3 separate regions of the Homo sapiens genome follow, and regions 2 and 3 are each linked to region 1. Evidence: promoter capture Hi-C in 16 types of primary human blood cells and fetal thymus (Javierre and others, 2016). All regions are on one chromosome and are shown on one strand. Each heading gives the region's core, a stretch centred on a gene start or on the middle of the fragment in contact. The rest is flanking DNA. Distances are from core to core; before and after follow the strand shown. Region 1 holds the start of C8orf48 (chromosome 8 open reading frame 48). Region 2 overlaps TRMT9B (tRNA methyltransferase 9B (putative)). Region 3 holds the start of LOC105379289 (a long non-coding RNA gene).

What was found. The method cuts DNA at HindIII sites, captures the fragments that hold promoters and counts their contacts. A CHiCAGO score of 5 or more calls a contact.
Region 2: a contact is called between a fragment that was not itself captured here and the fragment with the promoter of C8orf48 in region 1, in 1 of 17 cell types (erythroblasts). The highest score is 6.0, in erythroblasts.
Region 3: a contact is called between a fragment that was not itself captured here and the fragment with the promoter of C8orf48 in region 1, in 1 of 17 cell types (megakaryocytes). The highest score is 5.7, in megakaryocytes.

Annotation. Positions count from the first base shown.
Region 1 is chr8:13,565,593-13,569,296 of GRCh38, reverse strand. It overlaps C8orf48 (chromosome 8 open reading frame 48), which reads right to left and starts at 2,428. Exons shown (of 1, transcript NM_001007090.3): 1 at 1,009-2,428. The coding sequence starts at 2,305. The coding sequence ends at 1,346. It also overlaps a transcript of DLC1 not described here. The HindIII fragment of the contact is 14,151 bases long and covers 2,120-3,704 here.
Region 2 is chr8:13,023,863-13,027,471 of GRCh38, reverse strand. It overlaps TRMT9B (tRNA methyltransferase 9B (putative)), which reads right to left. Exons shown (of 5, transcript NM_020844.3): 5 at 1-3,609. The region is part of intron 3 of LOC124901889 (a long non-coding RNA gene); the gene reads left to right. Among named protein-coding and RNA genes, the nearest start is that of TRMT9B, 80 kb to the right of the region's middle. The HindIII fragment of the contact is 2,427 bases long and covers 83-2,509 here.
Region 3 is chr8:12,862,055-12,865,756 of GRCh38, reverse strand. It overlaps LOC105379289 (a long non-coding RNA gene), which reads right to left and starts at 291. Exons shown (of 3, transcript XR_949509.3): 1 at 1-291. The HindIII fragment of the contact is 973 bases long and covers 888-1,860 here.

The DNA of each region.
Region 1 (3,704 bases), core at 1,179-3,678:
CTTCTGTGCTGATTTTTGCAAACAAATTTCTTTTTCACTGAGATAATTCAGGTGTTGGACATGTAGAAAAGTGATCTCCAGGTAATGCCACTAATTCCATGGTTTTATATTTTTATAGAGGAAATAGATAATAAATGGCTTCTCAGAATGCCATCTAACATTTTTCTCCATAAATGTGTTTTCAAAATGCCATGGTATTCCTTGTGGAATAATACTGTTTCCTCATTACATAAATTTGGATGAACAACAGAAGGTTCATAAAATCTTCACGACCAAAATGGCTATCTAGATAATTTGTTTAAGCGTTCTTCTCTCAAAACTCAACACCTAACCCCAGCTTTACTTCTTCTTCCCCTTACAGCTAAATATTTCAAGGAGTACCCTATATCCATTCATTATTTACTTACATTTTTCCTCAATCTATTTTGTCTGCCCCATTTGTATAAGTGAAATGGCTTTTGCTAAGGTCAGCAGTGCCCAATACATGACTAAATCATCTTTACATGGCTTCTCTGTTGATTGATGTGGTTAGACAACTATCCTTCTTTAAATATTCATTCCTTAGCATCTATGACACTATACATTCCTGATTTCCTTGATCCACTTGATAACTTTTTTCACAATCTTTTCTGCAGGTTTATTTTTCTCTACTTAGCCATTAATTGGCATTTCTCAAGAGTTTGTATCAACCCTGCTTCTCTTCTTATTCATTTCCAAAAACGCTTGACAATCTACGGCTTCAACTTCCAGCTATATGCCATTGATCCCCACCCTTCCCCCAGTCCTACCCCAATTTATTTTGCACCTCTAGGCTATACCTTTCCTCTGAAGCGCAAAAACAAATAATCAAATGTTTCTTCAAACTGTCAATGTGTATGTCCCAAATGCACCTTATATGTCCAAATAATCATACTCTTCAACAGTTCCATCAAACATAGTCCTCTTCTGGTGTTCCTGTCTTAATGAAATTAATGATCATTCATCCGGGCGCACAAGTCAGAGCCTTAATAACATTTCAAACATCTACTATTTATTAATTCCCCATAGCCATTTGATCGCCAAAGACAGTTATTACTTTTTAAGTTTCTCTTACATCCCCATACTACTTTGCTTCTGTACCATCAACATCCTGGCCCAAACTACCAACATAGTTCTCTTGGAATTTTGTAAAAGTTTTTATAACTATTCCAACTACAACAGTGCCTTCTATAATAGGAAAAAAAAAGTGAAAGTTCTTAGTCCTCAAATCTGTGAAGGAAGCATAGTAAAGTCTTAAGTTAGTTTCCCAAGTGCCTGTAGAAATTATGGTAATTACTCAAATACACAACAAAGACATCTATCCACATTACACATTATCATTAACAATCACCAGCTCTGGTTTGATTAGAGTAAGTCGCTTGAGAAATGGCAGAGAAAATGGTAAATGACAAGCACTATTTCCATCTCGCTGCAACTTCTGCTCTGTCTCTGATCTTTCAAAACCAGAGTATCTGATATGACTTTTCTCAGTCAGTCTTTTCCAGATTATTCTGGGGTCATCTGAAAGCCTGGGAAAGTCTTGATGTGCTTCTCCAATACGGGTGAGAAAGTCTTTGGTATGAAGATGTTCATCTATTCTCTCTTGGAGTAGAAATGACTCCAGTAAAGTCTTCTTTTGTTTCAGAAAGGCAGACAGGGCCAGCTCCGCTCTTTTCCTGTTACAATAGGGACACTGATAAGATATGTGTTGCTTAGCTGCTGCCTCCTGTTTTGGCGTTGTCCTCATGTTTTTAAAGTAGATTCTGTTCAAAAGTTCATCGGGTACAGTACAACTAAAGGCATCTCTCTCTGAAGCCTCTACATCCAATCCAAGATGCAGCTTTTTATGTCTGCTGCTCGTCTTCTTCTTAGAATCCCCTCTACGATGAATCAAATTTATCTTCATGGTGCAATAAGACTGCAGGGCATTCAATTCTTCATCTGATACCCGAGTGATTTCTGTTGGAAGTTTGGTGTCTGGTTGGTGCCGTTCAAAGTTAGAGTCTTTGAGCTTGAGGTAGTTGATCCATTTTTTACTCAACTTCTTTTCATAATTTTTATAGTCCAAAAGCTCAGATTGTGTGTCTCCTTGTTCCAAGCTTGGAGTCTGCTTTTCCCTCTCCAGTTTGCTCCCAGAGGTCAGGGGCGAGGACTGCCGTCCTCCAGAGGAGCTGAATGAGCTGGAAGTCTGTACCTCATCAGTAGAGTTCTTCAAAGTCTCAGTCTCATCAGAAAGGTTTGCAAGAGCACTTTTGTCCGTTTGGGCCAATTCTGGGCAGATGGCCATCACAATGCATCAGGCTCGGCTCCTCATCTCCTTTGCCCAGGTTAAGACTGGCTCAGGAACCCGTCAGGAGCTGACCCCTCCGGGAATGGATCTCAATGCCATCAGCTCTGCGGAGGTCGTCTTCCGGGAGACGCCTTCCCAGCTGTCTTGGCAACGCGGGCCGCTCATGCGCAGTGACTGGCCACCATGCGGCGTCCCGCCTTTTCCTCCGCGCTCCCCAGCGCCCACTGCGCTTGCGCTGCTTGCGCCGGGTTGGCGATTTTGCCCTGTCTTCTGCACTCCTGCTTCTCTTTGGTGCTAAAGTCGAGTAGTCAACGGGAAAACCTTGCAAACTCTGTTTCCCAGGGGTCAGACAGGTGGCACACGTGTGTGAGACCAATAGAGTTAGGTGGCCTGTGACAAATCCGAACGTGTACGCCCGCCTAAATGCATCTAGATTTAAAAATCAAGCAAAACGCGCTGGACAAGATGCACAAGCAAAAACTTGTCTGCAGTGTTTATAGCCAAGAGACACCTCCTTGTAGAGCATGTCTTTGGGGAAAAGTCAAAATACAGAAACCATTCTGTAAGAAGTAGTGTTCTGTGCTCCAGCATTCTGAGGACCTCGAAGTTTGGGCGGGGTCGGGGGTGGGGAGCAGGGGCGGGGGAGGACCTTAATTTTCCAAATCAGTTTCTCTGGCCTTTTGTCCATACAGGTCCCCTCTGGCTAGCATATCCACGCCCGTCCTCACTCTTAATATCGTTAATTTATCCTCCTCCTCCGAGTCCCATTTCCTCAGGAAGGGCTTAATACCCACCCCTGCCTTAAACTCTTTCCAGCATTTTTTTTTAAATAGTGTCCAACTATGTGATTGTATGAGTATCTGATTATGAAGGCTGAAGGCAGAAATCATGTCGGTGTTGCCGACTAGTATGAGCCCAGCAATCAGCAGACACATAGCAGGTGTTCAAGAAATCTCTGTTGAGTGAATGGCTATGGAACAAATAAATCTTACCTTACACACGTCCAGAGGATTTGGAGAAATAAGTACTATAAGTTCAGGGAACTCTAACCTTTTTTCTAACTGAATCCCCAAACTTAGGCTATTACACAGGATATATTTTTTATTAATGGATTCATTTAAAAAACACAGTAGAGTTTTATTAATTATCGTGAGAAATTATAAAATGTTAACTCTAGAGATGGACTTTTCCTAGGTTATAATAGTTCTTGAGTCTAGGACTTAGTCAATGTCTAGGATAATTTTAAGAGCCTAGACACCCTTCTTTCTCAGTTTTGTCTCTCTCTCTCTTTCTTCCTGTGTTTCTTGGGGATTGGGGGGTATTATTCAGGTCTAGCCAGATATATTCCCCAAATGTTCATTCTGGCAAAAAGTGAAAGTCAAATATTCAAAAAGCA
Region 2 (3,609 bases), core at 47-2,546, 540 kb after region 1:
TTATTTTCTGAAATATATCCCACAGAACACGTGCGCTATAGGATGTTAATACGTCTAGGGTAAGCTAGATTAAGTCCAAGCTTTAGGGTACTCCTTAAATATGCTAATATGCATCATGATTCTCTAAGGGAGGGTTGTTTGTTGTTTTCCTCAAACTAAACAATATAACTTGGTAATAGGCACACAGGGAATACGAAGAATGTTTCAGCTTGGCACCTGTGGGTCAGTTAATTCTAATATTCTGGGTACCTTCAAGATGCCAGATAGTCATTACCTTGTATCATATGTATCCAGCACACAGCAGACTGTGTATCCAGCACACAGCAGGGCTTAGTAAACAAATGGAGTGAATGAAATATCTGAATAGTCCTCAGTTGCCTTACTTATAAAATGGGAAAACAATAATATAATTGTTGAAAGGTTGAAGAGTTGGAGAAAAGTGGTCCCAGAATATTTTGCAACCAAGAACTATTTTTTAATTCAAATCAAATCGAAACAGATTTACAAATGAAAAAAAGATAAAAGGGAAAATATGTAAGAGACTACTATTGAATTATTGTCTAGCTGTGTAATCTTTGCTTAAACTTTTCCAAAGCTCATTTGGAAAGGGGATAATCACACTTACCTTGAAAGGCTCTAATACTCCGCCAAGCACATGAGCTGGGCCCAGGGGTGGGAGTATATGGTGTTGTGGTTAAGAGCAGAGACTAGGAGCCAGACCTGGGTTTGAATCCCAGCTCTGCCTCTAACTAAATGTGTGATACCTACTATGTGTGTAACCTTAAGCAATTTAATTTCTTTCTGCCTCAGTTTTCCTCATCTGCAAAATGGGAACAATAAGTATAGTTATCTTGGAGGGCTGTGGTGAGGACTGCATATAAATTAATGAACGTTGCTTTTTTTAAAAACAAAAATCCTTTATTACTCTTTTTTAACAAACAGCCCCTGGGACAGGGGACCAGGAGAAGGGGAAGGAGGGGAAGTGAGGCCCCAGCCGCACAACCCCTCCCCCCCACCCCTTTCCCCCTTATATATTTATAATCTATATACAAGCCCCGGGGGTAGAGGGCAAGAGGAACTCCCTCAGCGGGGTCACAACAGGTCCCAGTGTGTGATGTTCCCCTTACTGTGTCCATGTGTTCTCATTGTTCAATTCCCACCTATGAGTGAGAACATGCGGTGTTTGGTTTTTTGTCCTTGCGATAGTTGAATGTTGCATATTTAGAAAAGTTCACAGCTATTCTCATTTCAGATTTTCTATGTAATAGGAAAGAGATGCTGAGGCCTGCCCTAATTTGTTTTTCTTAGACTGCAGCTGCTTGTCTGGTGGTTGGTTCCCATTTCCTCCTTCCTCCAAAACTGGGGGCTCACAGCTCATATTTAACCTGTGCCCTCCCCCACCAAGTTCAAGTACTGAGTTAGAACTTCTGTTCTCCTCCAAACTCGTATATATGTATTAATTTAATTTAAAATCCACCAGTGCTTTTTTTTTGGCCATTAATAATCAGGGGCATTCATGTTCCTAGCTGGTTTATATTTGGATGGTTTTTTCTCTGGATTACTCCAAATTTTTGCCTATTGAATTGATGGTCACTTAAAAGACAGAGGAATTACTGGCATGTAGAATTTGGAAGGAAATAGAAAGGCAAACGAGAAATAAGAATTAGCACTATTCTGCACGGAGATCTATGATGAGAAAAGAGAACGAAACCAAACTCCAAGACGTTTGTGTAGCTAGTTTGTTAGTTACTTTGATATGCTGGTGTCATATCATCACTATACTGGCAATTGGAAAAAATTTAAATAGGTGCTTGAATGATTCTCACTATAACATTATTTTGATTCCATCCTTTGTCCATGTTAATGCGCTTTCCCCCAAATCCTTTGAAGATTCTGTGGAATTCCTCAAATAGACAGTGAGGCATCAGGAAGCCAGCAAAGTTTTGTTTTGTTGGAGATGGAGTTTCACTCTTGTTGCCCAGGTTGGAGTGCAATGGCACAATCTCGGCTCACTGCAACCTCCGCCTCCCAGGTTCAAGCGATTCTCCTGCCTCAGCCTCCCAAGTAGCTGGGATTACAGGCATGCGCCACCAACCTGGCTAATTTTTTGTATTTAATAAAGACGGGGTTTCACCATGTTGGTCAGGCTGGTCTCAAACTCCTGACCTCAGCTGATCCACCCACCTCAGCTTCCTGAAGTGCTGGGAGTACAGGTGTGAGTCATCGTACCCAGCTGCCAACCAAGTTTTTAAGACTCCTCCAATAAACCCCCAAACTCTCCCTTCTATTTCAGATAGTGGGACTCTGTGCTGATGCCAGTAAGTAAAGAAGAAGGAATAAGAAAGACACTGTGTGATCTAGTATTAATAAGGAAGTAAGTGATCAGATTACTCCAGCTAGGTCAGTAGAATCTATCATCAAGCAAGTTGAGGCCGACAGCATTCACAAATCAACTGTCTACGTTTATACTCACTGATGACCTGTGTTTCCTTTCGAGGACAAGCAAGCTTTTTAAATGATCAAGACGTTTACATTAGTTTTGCTCTTCAATGGCTTTTTAAAAAAAATCCAAAGGCGGAAGTTAAATTTAAAAGAGCTTTCCATGTGACTACCCCAAAGAGAGATTATCAATCACCAAATTAAATATTTGTATACAAAATAATATCTGGATGCATAGATTCTTATGTTCATTAGATGAAGAGTAAAAGACTTATTAGTCAGCATGCTTTATTTACACCCCTGTCAAACGTACATGAAAATATTTCTCTCCAAAGAACCGTTCTAGAGAACCCTTTCATACAAAGTGGTGTGTGCACATCTAAGAGGTTGCTCAGACAGTTTAGCTCAAAGGCTAAAGAGTCTGGTAAACTGAGTTCCACCAAGTCTTGACTTTTAACTGGTAGGCTAGCAGCAGAAAGAGAGGACTTCAAGCACAGATTTCTAGCAGCAAGGCCAGGATTAAAAACCCATGTGACAATAGGCTTCAGAGAGAGGAACAATCCATTCATAATTCAAAGGCCGTCAAGCCCGAGTTGTAAGACCATTTTGACTCTGAGAATCTTTTCTTTTTACCAAGGAAATCCCTTGCAGTCATGGTTTAGTGTCCTGAATTAAGAAATAAAAGGAACAGGCCGGGCGCGGTGGCTCACGCCTGTAATCCCAGCACTGTGGGGGGCCGAGGCGGGTGGATCACGACGTCAGGAGATCGAGACCATCCTGGCTAACACGGTGAAACCCCGTCTCTCCTAAAAATACAAAAAAACAGCCGGGCGTCGTGGTGGGTGCCAGTAGTCCCAGCTACTTGGGAGGCTGAGGCAGGAGGATGGCGTGAACCCGGGAGGCGGAGCTTACAGTGAGCCGAGATCGCGCCAGTGCACTCCAGCCTGGGCGACAGAGCGAGACTCTGTCTCAAAAAAAAAAAAAAAAAAAAGAAATAGAAGAAACCAAATTAATTTTTAATTTATACTCCACTTATATATGTTTTCAATCATCCACTACTGCAGGATGTACACTGAACAGTACAACTCATATGCATCATTTTCACCAGACAACCTCATCTACCAAAATGGTGATAACACAATCTTATTTTGAAGCCAAAAGAGAGTTATA
Region 3 (3,702 bases), core at 125-2,624, 700 kb after region 1:
CAGAGCATCACTGCTCAAAGCTTCTCACTGTGGTTTTAGTTCCAGGTTCATTTCTGAACTGTGTCTACATTAGATAATAAAAATATATTATATTTTAGCCAGTATTTCTAGGTGCTTTTAGTGGAAGGATTTTCAAATTCTGTCCTCCACAAGCCGATAGCTGTCAAATAAGTTTATCCCTCCAATCCTATAGGCCAAACAATCTCCAGTTCTATCAGTTAAACGTCCCATTTCAAACCAGTCCAAACTCTTGCCCTGCTACTCAACTCCCAACCTGGCTCACATTTTCAACTTCAGTTTCCCCAGGCATATCCAATCCCCCTACCCTCTGATCAAACTAGAAAACACTCTCTATGATCTAACAATCCACAAAGCAAATACTGCATGGTTCGAAGTCTGTGACAGTAGATGTTTTTTTGATTTGAAGAAGAAGAATAGAAGCATCAAGAATCCTCGCAGAAAAGTTTTTAAATGATTTGTAAAGGATTCATTTAAAAATGATTTTGTTAAGACCCTCCCATGGTAATTGCTAATATTTATAAAACCCAAATTTATGCCTGAAAGTTTCAGTAATTGAGAACAAAAGTAACATCTAAAAACCCCATTACAAACAAACAAGCTTTTTTTTAGTATAAAGTCTTACATTAGTATAAAGTTCTTAGTCTTTACTGTTGAGTCCTTGATGTAAAGTCTTAACTAGTTTTTCTTTTTCTTTTTTTTTAGAGATGGGGTCTGATTATGTTGCCCAGGTTGGCCTTGAACTCCTGGACTCAAGTAACCTCCACTTAGGCCTCTCAAAGTGCTGGGATAACAGATGTGAGCCACTGTGCTCAGCTTCTTTACATTTTTAGTGTAAACTTAGGGTAAAATCTCCTATTGTAGAAGCTTCTATTGTGGTCAATGTAATATGTCAAATTGACTAGGTTATGGTACCCAGATGTTTGGTCAAACACTAAACTGGATGTAGCTGTGAAGGTATTTTTAGAATAAACTTAACATTTAAATCAGTAGACTTTCAGTAAAATAGACTACCCTTCATAATATGGGTAGGCCTCATTCAATCAGGTCTTAGGAGAAAAGACTGAAGCATCCCAAAGAGGAAGAAACTCTGCCTCAAGATTTCAATATAGAAACACTGCCTGGGTGTCCAGCCTGCAGATTTTGGATTCAGGTCTTCAACTTCAACTCTTGCTGAATTTCCAGCCTGATGGTTTGCTGTACAGATTTTGGACTTGCGAGACTTTCCGCCAGATGCTTCCTCTCACCCCTTGTCCCTGGCATGGCTTTATTCCAGAACCTCTGTCAAAATATACTTTATGGGTGGCTACTCTGGCTTAATGAAGAGATAGAGATGGCAAACTTCTCATCAAGTCATATTTGTTTGGCTCTCCAAAAAATGTATTAAGCTATTAATATATTTGCAGCACTGGGGCCACCTCAAAAATGGGTTAAAAGATGGGTTCTTCTGGCAGGGCGTGGTGGTGCATGCCTGTAATCCCAGCACTTTGGGAGGATGAGGCGGGTGGATCACCTGAGGTCGGGAGTTTGAGACCAGCCGGACTAACATGGTGAAACCCCGTCTCTCCTAAATACAAAAAAAATTAGTCAGGCATGGTGGCAGGTGCCTGTAATCCCAGCTACTCAGGAGGCTGAGACAGGAGAATCACTTGAACCTGGGAGGCGGAGGTTGCAGTGAGCCGAGATCGTGCCATTGCACTCCAGCCTGGGTGACAAGAGTCAAATTCTGTCTCAAAATAAATAAATAAATAAATAAAATACCTTCTTCTCACACTCATTAGGAAGGCTAGTATCGAAAAATGGAAAATAAATGTTGGTGAGAATGTGGAGACCTTGGAAGCTTTGTGCACTGCTACACATGCTACAACAGAGGTGAGTATTGAAGACATTGTGCTACATTATGTGAAATAAGTAGGTCACAAAAGGACAAATAATGTGTGATTCCACCTATATGAGGTACCTAGAATAGATACATTCACAGAGATGGAAAATAGAAGTTACCAGTGGTTGGGGGGAGAGATTAATCAGGAGTTATTATTTAATGAGTACAGTTTCTGTTTGGGATGATGAAAAAGTTCTAGAAATGGGTGGTGATAATGATTGCGTAACAACGTGAATGTAGTTAATGCCAATGAATTGTACACTTCAAAATGATTTACATGGTAAATTTCATGTTAATGTATGTTTTACCACAATAAAAATGTACCTTCTTCTTTCAATCATGCACATGGGTCTAGATAAGCTTACATTGTTGGTAGAGATGATAAAAGAGAAAATAGTGAGAGTCCATAATTCTGTTCCGAGGTGGGGACTAGTCAATATTTTCCTCCAGTTTGGCTAAAAATTTGAAAACAATCAAATTTGTTTTGACATTTATTAAGCTGATGAAAATGATGGGATGGTACAGTCAAAAAGGTAGAAATTATAGTTTTTTTAATACTTTAAGTTCTGGGATACATATGCAGAATGTGCAGGTTTGTTACATAGGTATACACGTGCCATGGTGGTTTGCTGCACCGATCAACATATTATCTACATTAGATATTTCTCCTAATGTTTCTTCTCCCTTCTTGAAGTGTTGGACAGTTTTGTATTTTCTTTGGCTCTGAATGCATGCAATCTTGATAGAGGCAGACCCATCTACTTCTGAAGGTCAGGTTGCTTGCGGCAGCTCAGTTATTCAAGTGTGCAGTGTGAAGAAGGAAGGAGACTGGATACAATAATTACTTAAGCAGCTACTAGTTTCTTGACCAGAGTTAAACCGCTTAATCTTCTGTGCCATGGTTTCCTAGCCTGCGTGTCTTCTCGCTTCAGTTTGTAAACTAAGATTGACCCTAAATCAGAAACAGATACCACAGTATTAAAAAATATTACTCATTATTTTACATTGTGGGTTTTGTACTCTTTCTGCATCAGATTTTGACTGTTTGTATGGCTGGCTCTGAAAGCTCTAGACAGTTGCTCAAAGTGAGTATTCCTGTCTGCTCAGGTTATAACCTCAGCCCCCTCTCTTTGAGAAGCAGATGCCAACTTGGGGTGAGAAAGGGCCACCACCCTCTCCAAAATTCATCCCTTTGTGACCATAAAGCCATGTCTTTACAGCAGAAATGACTACTTCCCCTAGTTAGCTCTATGTTTCCTATAAAATATTTTACTATTCAAGATCAAGCAGAGCAATGTTGTTCTGTAAGTTTGTGATTTGCCTCGGAAACCACAGGGGTTGTGTGAGAATTTATGTTCAGAGCATTTATAACTTTATAAAACATGAGGTAAAAGCTTTCCTTCACAAAAGAGGTGAAAATCCTGACCTGTGCTGAGAAATGAATAGGAATGGAGGATCTGTGCATGTGTAAAACGACACTGTCAACTAACATTTTAATTTCACACCATGCATCAGACAAATTCGAGGCAACCAAAATGCAATATATCAGAGATGAGGAGAAATCTTTATCAGGCTATAAAAGTAACCCTCTGCACACTTACAATAGTCCATCATGGGACACCCAAGATGGATTTATACCAAGAGTAAAGATTATTTGCACGTTACAACTCACCTAGGTGGTACTAGCTCAAATTGGGACCAGTATTCTCTTTAATGATATTAAAGTGTGAATGTCACATAGATGTGATAAACAACTTGAGTTTCAAAGACGCTTCTGAGAGTGGTCAAAACCATTAGCTACT